Linked DNA regions of Homo sapiens: region 2 is linked to region 1. Evidence: promoter capture Hi-C in 16 types of primary human blood cells and fetal thymus (Javierre and others, 2016). All regions are on one chromosome and are shown on one strand. The core of a region is centred on a gene start or on the middle of the fragment in contact, and the rest is flanking DNA. Distances in the headings are between cores, read along the strand shown.

Region 1 (4,148 bases), core at 705-3,204:
CTAGTCTCAAACTCCTGACCTCAAGTGATCCGCCCACTTTGGCCTCCCAAAGTGCTTCCCAGGCACTTTGTGCTTTACAGGCGTGTGCCACCGCGCCTAGCCACAATATCAGATTTTTATGTTACTGTTTTCTCTAATGATAAAAGCCATGTCATTATCAACTTGTTCACAAGCAAAAGGCCATTTTACACAGTATTAGCATTATATACTTCAACTTTTACCTTCCAATAAATACTTCTTGCTTTCATCTATAGAAATGACAGTGAGATTTTTTTAGTTTATGCTACTATACCTACTACAAATTATGGCATGAAGATTTTGTCAGAAAGGACTATTTCATTGCACAGTTCAGGAATATTTTACATGTTAAGATGAAAATGAACAAGGTGAGCCTCCAATGTATCAAATTCTGTGCTGTAAGAAACTGGAGTTACATCAGGCTTTGGTACACTTTTGAGACTGTAAGGCAAACAGGGTAACAAAAAAATAGATACTGCAATGATACCCATTCCAATTATGAAATAAAACTTAAACTTCAAGTTAATTCACAAACTGCTCTTCAAGTATTCTCTACTTAGCAAAAGCACAATTCAATAAATAAAATCTCAGTCACACAACATGCCTAATAATGAGGGCTCCTTTGCATATCAGATATGCCGTGTACCTGTAGAATAACTTCATTAGTACCTAAAGGTCATCTGAATCAACAACCACCAATATTCACTGATACTAAATTGTGGGAAGAAATGTCTCATTTGCTGTCATATAAAACCAACATTACCTGAATAATCATAGGTGTCTACTTTTCAAGATGTGAAAAAAACTTCATATATTACCTTGATCAGTAATTCATAACCCTGGTTGCACATTAAAATAACTTCTGGTAATTCCTAAAATATACTGATGTCAACCTCATCAGAACTGGAGGAGGAGTGCATCAGTAGTGTACTAAAACTCCTCAGTGATCCTAATATGTAGCCAGGAATGAGAATTATCAATCTCTTAGATTAGAGATGCTCCTGAAGGTTACTCTATAAACCAATGGGATCAGTTCTCCCCTCCATATCTTTCCGTGCACAACAGTGGAAGGGAAAAATGAGTGCCACATATTTCAAATGATTTTTTAGCAAATTGATTCTGGAGCATGTATACATGGTAGAATCTCAAACTTCAAGCATAAGAAAATTCATAAACTCTATCGTTAATGCCCAGCTATGACGATGCTGCAGACTTGTGCAAAGAGTTAATAGACTGTACTACTAACAGGGGAGGGGGCAGCTCACCCAATAACAGATGTCTGATTACAGACGCAGTACAAGAGCGAAAAGTACAGACTTTAAAGCCGGTCAACCCGGGGCTCTGCCACACACTGTTTACCTAAACCTGGGTTTCCTCCCTGTAAAATGGGAATTCACATCTACTTCATAAGTAGATATTAACGAGCTAAAACACCTAACTTAGTACGTAGTTACGATGATGATGACTCAATTTATAATACTAAGCTAATTAATGTCTGTTGAGTTTAACTAAAAGCAGAGGACCTGGAGAAAAGACCGGTCTAGGTCACTGCCACTGGCCCGCAAGCTCCTTTTCACAAATGTCCCGATGATGACATGTCATGAGCAGAAGACCAGGCAATTTCAGGCCATAGGAGAGAAAGGATGCAGAGGACAGGACGAGACTTGTAATGCCAAAAGGGGCCCAGAGGCCGCGCATCCCACCTATCGAAGCCTGGGCCGCGGCGATGCCGCCAGGTCTCCAGGATGAACCGAAGGGAGGCCGATGGTGGAGAATAGAGCACGCAAGGTCCCTCACCTTCACTACAGCTGTCCCCCGGCTGCCCTGCCGGCCACTGTCTACTCCCGCTCCGAGCTTGTTTACAACCAGGGTAGCCATCCTCGCAGGGGAAGCGCCACAGAAACAGCCTTCAGAGTCCTCAACTGAGAGGCGGGGTTGAGCCACCTACCCAGAGGCCTCTGCGCACGCCACCGGCGCACAGGCGCAGTAGGACACTGGGCGCCGCTTAGCCGACTCTTACTCCTCCTCCCCGCAATCGTCGGGTGGTTAGTTGCACAGCCTCGCGCATGGGCACTTTTGTTATTTTTCATTATGTAGTCTGCAGCTGCTGGAGGAAAGACAAGAAAAAAAAAGAAGGGACAAAACGATTAAAGTTTTGGGGTGAAAACTCCAGATCCTTTAATGATTTTTCCTCTCGAATCCAAACCAGCCAGGGCGTGAACTGAGGGCGGTGAGGGGGTACGGGCATCTCCCTGCATGCAACGCGGTTTTTGTATAAACTACAAATCCCAGCATGCCACTCTCTCTCTCTCTCTTTTTTTTTTTTTTTTTTTTTTTTAAAAAAAAAACTCCGGCAACGTTGGCCTTTGGGAGGCCGCGTATTGTTACCTAGGGGTGGTTTCTTTTCCTGCAGTCGCGATGTGTGATTGCAGATGGAAAACAAAGTATTTTATGCCTACGTTTCTAAGATAGAAGAAATGGACTTGTTGAAAAGAAGCCAGTTTGTAAAGGACACAGTAGGAGAATTTAAGGTACCACCACCAGAGAGAGGTTGAGAGTGCGTTTGACTTTTGGTTTTGCCAAACGCGAGGTTTTCCGTTTCCTTCCGGGGCAAGTTGAACCTGTCCAGCCCCCGTAGGCTGTGGGTCAAAAGTGCCGGTCAAAATGGAAGTGAATCCCCCTAAACAGGAGCACCTGCTGGCGCTAAAAGGTAAACTTTTGCGAACCTGATTCCCCCTTTTCTGTTTCCTTGCATTCCCTACTTATCGAAGCCTTTGCCATGTAGGCCTCATCCTTCTTAAACACTCAGTGCTCGCCCTCCTGCTCTGTCCTTTGCCGCCAAGCGGGAGGAAGCGATTTCTCCTGGATGCTTTTTAGGTTTATGGGCCCCTTTCTAGAACGAAATAGATACCTGGTAAATCGTTCTTTCTGATCTGTGCTGCTTCAGTCACGAGATTTTAGCCGCAGAAGCTGACGTCCCGCTCCTACCGTGGAGATCTCTGTGAATTACAGCGGGCATCCAAAGTGCTTTTTCCTTCTGTCTCTTGTTTCTTCCTGTGGCACTGACGAAGTTAATCAGGCTTCAGCTTCCCCTGTAAAATTAGTATTGCATGACAGTAGTGCAGAGAATTTAGCAATACATAGTAATACAACATATAACTTAGATTTATTCAAAACAAACTGCAGTTTACTTCAAATCACTGTGTATGTGGGAAATATGTCCGAGATCTAATGTCAACTCTCATTTTTTGTACACAGCCATTTTGAGTAAGTTTGGTGATTTAATTAGATCATTATTTAGGAAAAAACAGCAGCACTTTTTTTTTTAGGACAATTTTTTTAATGCCTATTTTCTGGAAACCTTTTATTTGAAATCTTTTCAGCTTTATTTTATTTGTTTTTTACTACAACAAATGCGCTTTTTGTTTCTTGGATGCCTTAATATATGGTTAACAATGACTTCTTGAATGAGCTGAGGAAATGCTCAATAAACATTCGGGTTCAATTGAATTGCGCTTACTTTACTTATGGCATCCATTTTGAGGAACGCCTTATCCTTCCCATTATGATGTAGTCATCAGACTTTCTAGAAGCTCATCAGTCTCATATAATGATGCCTGTGTTAGCGAGATTGTCTCTTACTGTGGAACTTTGTAATGTTTAGTGATACAGTGATGGGACCTGTAAGCTTAACCTGAGCAAATGATCTAGACTAAAATGGAGATTAAAATGGATTGTTACTCGTGGAGAAGAGGGAAAAGAAGAAAAGCAACTAATTGTCGTGTTCTTTATCTCACAATCTCACTTCAAGTATGTGGAGTAAATATTAATTCTCAGAGTTTAAGTAACTTTTCCAAGATCACATAGCTAGTGATTGAGGCAGTGTTTCAACGCAAGGCCTGCCTCTCTTTCCAAGAGTCCGTGTTGCCTCCTAAAGAATGAAGCAGCATTCTCAGAGATAATTCCTCTACCAGCTACTCCGATGGGAATTTGGAACAGTTCTATTAACTGCTACGTGTGATTTATACAAATTAGAAGCTATTAAAAACAGTTAAATTGCAGCCGCGCGTGGTGGCTCACCCCTGTAATCCCAGCAGTTTGGGAGGCCAAGGCGGGTGATCACAAGGTCA
Region 2 (4,148 bases), core at 934-3,433, 520 kb before region 1:
CCTTGATAACCTGGTGAAGAGTGATATGGACACAGGAGGTAATCAACAAATACTTGTTGAAGGAGTGAACTTGAGGAGAATCCAAATCTTCAGATCCTCAGGCCTTCAGCTCATGACACATAGAGAAACAGTCACTGGTCCCCTGGGAAGCAGGGTCCTCCAAAGCTGTCCACAACACCACCTGGAAAGGGGAAGAATTCCTTTCTGGGTGAGCCGCACACCGACTTGCACCAGGGGGCAGAGTGAGCAGCACTTTTGGAGTTTGACCTGGAGCCAGGGCCTTTTCAAGGGAGTCCTCCCGGAGTCATTTGAGACCTCCCAGTAAAACAATATGTTTTCTGTGCTTCTCAGCACATTCATGTTTCTAGTCAAAGTGCTATTGGGAAATGTTAACTTTTTCTACCCTTGAAGGAACAGTGGCCGCTGAGAGACGGTGTGACAAAATTGTGCTGAGGGGTCTTCCAGTCTGAAAGGCCAGTTCCAGGAAGCCTACAGTGGGAAGTAAAGGCCAGTTACAGTAATCCCATCATTGGGAGGTATTCTTATTTTTATGTACCAAGAAGACAGTATAATATTTAGAGGACAGTAAACCCCAGACCCACACTGTTCCATTAGACTCTTCCTTACTAGGTCGGAGGCAGCACTCGGGCACTGTAAGCCTAGCTTTATCAAGACATAATTCAGAAATGCAAACGGAAGAAATTTTACTGCAAATGGTATTTCTTACTTCAAAAGCGAGAACTGTTTTCCCTTTTATGGTATCTTAGATATCCATTTTTTGAAAATGTTTTCCCAGCACATTACAAATTACTTCAGAGTTGGGAAATGCTCCTGCTAGGAAGAGGCTGAGTGCTCGGAGGGTTGGTCTCGAGTCCCGATCAAAACATTGTTTATTTGGGCAACTACATTCTTCTGTCAGTAAGGCCTGGGGAGTTTACTATTAATCCCAAATGTAAACCTCTGTTAGAGTTGCTTACAAAAGGCGACTACTATTTAACTCTTATGTTCACAGCACATCTTGTTAATTCCTCCAATAAAGGAGAACTCAGCTCTTGCGTTTGAAATTTCCAATTTTTGGTTAGGTGACCTTAAACTACTTCACCCCTGATCTCTACTCCCATCTTTATTCTTTCTCCACTTACGGTGGGACTTCCCTAGAAAACACCTGAGGTTTACCAATTTTAGAGGGGACCGAGGGAGAGGCAGGAAATGGTGCCTGGTGAGAGCACGCTCCCTTCCTGTCTCAGAGGGTTGCTGTCTGGACGGGAATTGAAGAAGAATCAGAAATACGTACTGAATTAGGATTGCTAGAGTTAATAAAACAAACGCACACGAATTTTTGTGTGGGTCATACTCATGCTCAAAATTTGTCGTTGTCTATCTGATATTCATATGGAACTCAGTGTGCTGTATTTCAGCTGGCAACCCTTTACTGAATGGATAACCCAGATTTGGACGAAACAGTGGCTGGAAGGTGGAGGCCCTCAAAGTCTCAAAGAGAGAGGTCCTCAAGATTTCTTTTCTAGGGCATCCTCTAGTACTCAGGGTAGAAACACAGAGTCTGTGGTGGCCTTGGGGGCAAAGACGAATGTGTCCTCTAAGGCTGGCCCACCATGGGGAGGAATCCGTGTTGAATGGAGACAAAGAGAGGTGTTAGGAAGCAGCACTGGCGTCCTGCTTCCTCTCCCTATGGGTTCCCTCTGCCTTTCTCCCTCGTCTCTCCCGGAGGGCTCTCTCCCCTCCACACGCCTCCTCCCCAAGAAACCAACATAAGATAATTCTCTTCACTTTAGTTCTCCTGTGCCTGGGTGTAGATGGGAATAAAGCGATGAACCTACGGGGCGAGCGGTGGGCAAAGCTTTCTGTGTATTTGCAGCTCAGCAGTCGAGCGTCCACCCCAAGCTGCATAAACTTGGGTGCCCTCGCCTCCGGCAACCCCGGTGCTTCAGTGCTCCCGACCTTTCTCTGCCGCCCCTCGCCTCGGCGGCCGCCGGGAGCGGCTGTGGGGTGCGCCGGTCGCCCCGGGCCCGAGCGGGAGGAGAGTCCCGCCCCGCCGCGCCCCGCCTCCGGGCGCCCCGACGCTGCCGGCGCGGACGCCATTGCTGCGGCCGCTGTTTGTTATTAAACTGCCCAGAGAAAGGGCTTCGAGTAAAAACACCAACTTTCCAGTCGGGGCGGCGCAGGTCCCCGGGCCCTGGAAAGTTCTGGGACGGCCGAGGTCTCCCCGGACACCCGCACCCACGCCCCCGTCGTGCCCTTTCTGGCTTTTGGCTTCCTCTCCTCGATTTCCCTTTTGTGCGGCCCCGGGCAGCTTCCTCAGGCCCCGCCGCCCCCACCTGGCCGCCCTGGGAGCTGTTCCTCCCCCAGCAGCAGGAGCATCCAGCTCGGGTTTTATTACCTCCCGAGACACTCGAGGAAGCCTCAGGTGGGTTTCCATGTCAACCTTCACTGAAATCCAAACATTTGGCGTTCTCAAAGGCAGTTTAACCTCTGCCACCATTTTTTTTTCAAAGCTTAAAAAAAAACCTAGAACTTTCAAAAGCCGCAGGCTTCTGGGGGTTTCTAGTCAGAGGGTGATAACACATCTTGAGACAGGATATGTATAATTTGTTTGGTTTCACGTTTATCCTCACAAAGCTAAACAGTAATGACTGAGAGCTATGAAAACACTTAGGTAAGGAGAGGGGCTAGAGCAGAGATAAAAGGGATAATTGGAAACAGAGGCGAAGCCTCCAAGTTGCACCTTGTTGAATACTGTCACAGCCGGGCAGGCCGGGGAGCTCATGGCAGGATGCGGCATCTCTTAATTCTGGGCACTCCGCAGCCTCTCCTCTTCCAAGGTTTACTTACGCAAGCTTAGCTGCAATTTTCCACAGATACTCGTCCTGGTTCCGGGCCACCTTCCCCAGTAAGAGACCTCCTGAGGCGGGAGCTGGGGGTTGAACATGTGGTGAACACAGGTTCCAAGCTTTGGAACAGGCCACCTGGAAATGGGAGATAACCTGTTGAGATAAGGGATTTACTGAGGCCAGGGCGCACTGTAGGGAGCGGGGAGCAGAAGGAGTGCGGCTCCACATGTCCAGTCGTGGGATGCAACTGGGAGGTAATATATGAGTCTAGTGAGACCACACGGGGAATACTATGTTCCTCATTGCCTCCCAAGGAAGATGCACATAATGAGCTGGCTGCCTTTCAGAGAAGAGCAATTAGGATGCTTAAGGGGCCACAGGGAGTGACTTAGGGGGAGAGATTAAAAGAATTAAGTATGTATACCTTGGCTGAGCTCAAAGCACAGGGAATGTGGAAACTCTATAAGCATCCTCCGAATATAAACATAAGGAGAAGTGGAATTGTTTCTCATGGTCCCTGAGGGATGGAACTGGAAGTAATAGGGTAGAAGAAAAGAAAACTTAACTACCTGCTAGAGAAAGCTGCTGAGCAGTCCCAGATACCAAAAGTGTCAGAGTCACACCTAATATTTTTAGAAATAAAGTCAACAAAGGAAGACACGACATGATAGGAGAAAAATACGTTTAGATAACAGGGACTGGTCTCACAGGGATGCTTTGAAGGGGTAAGAAAATAACACAAGTCAGTTTCTTTTAGGGAGTATCTGAAACCTTTGAAGGCTGCCTACTAACTAAAGTTTATTACCAGGTGTTTTTGCCTGGCATTCAAAGCCCTCTCCATCTGGCCAAGCTTACCCTCCTAAAATAATCTGTCATCAGTCCCCAACATAAGCACATCTCCTGAGTGCTCCTGGTGTAGTTCCTCCTTTGCGCGTGAAATTCCTCCAACCTGAAATTCCTCTAACCCGAATTTCCTCTCTCCAATCCCAGTGTCCAGCTATTCAAGTCTTACCCACTTTTTAGGGTCTACTTATATCCTACTTCCCCTGGCTACCCCAATCCATAATGCTCCTGCTGTCTTCCTCCTCCTAGAACTCATGTTGGTACCTGTCATACATTACTTGCATTGTTAGCTGATGTATTCTGATCTTATCTGGTCTTACAGATTGTGAGCTTCTTAGAAACTAGAGGGCATGTCCTCTCCCTTCCACTTCCCATCACTTTTTAATTCTCCGTGCTAGCTTTCATAACCATTATGAACCATAATTCACACAATAATAGGATTCTTTCCTGGTTTCT

What was found. Contacts are between HindIII fragments. The CHiCAGO score rates a contact against its expected background, and 5 or more counts as called.
Region 2: a contact is called between a fragment that was not itself captured here and the fragment with the promoter of TRIM23 in region 1, in 1 of 17 cell types (naive CD8 T cells). The highest score is 5.6, in naive CD8 T cells.

Annotation. Positions count from the first base shown.
Region 1 is chr5:65,622,379-65,626,526 of GRCh38, forward strand. TRIM23 (tripartite motif containing 23) reads right to left here and starts at 1,955. Exons shown (of 11, transcript NM_001656.4): 1 at 1,816-1,955. The coding sequence starts at 1,896. It overlaps TRAPPC13 (trafficking protein particle complex subunit 13), which reads left to right and starts at 2,649. Exons shown (of 13, transcript NM_024941.4): 1 at 2,649-2,728. The coding sequence starts at 2,683. SHLD3 (shieldin complex subunit 3) reads left to right here and starts at 2,649. Exons shown (of 2, transcript NM_001365341.2): 1 at 2,649-2,728. RefSeq lists enhancers at 1,625-1,954, 2,085-2,164. The HindIII fragment of the contact is 4,327 bases long and covers 1-3,704 here.
Region 2 is chr5:65,101,047-65,105,194 of GRCh38, forward strand. No RefSeq gene overlaps it. Among named protein-coding and RNA genes, the nearest start is that of CWC27, 330 kb to the left of the region's middle. RefSeq lists enhancers at 1,443-1,943, 1,944-2,444 and a silencer at 1,926-2,215. The HindIII fragment of the contact is 655 bases long and covers 1,857-2,511 here.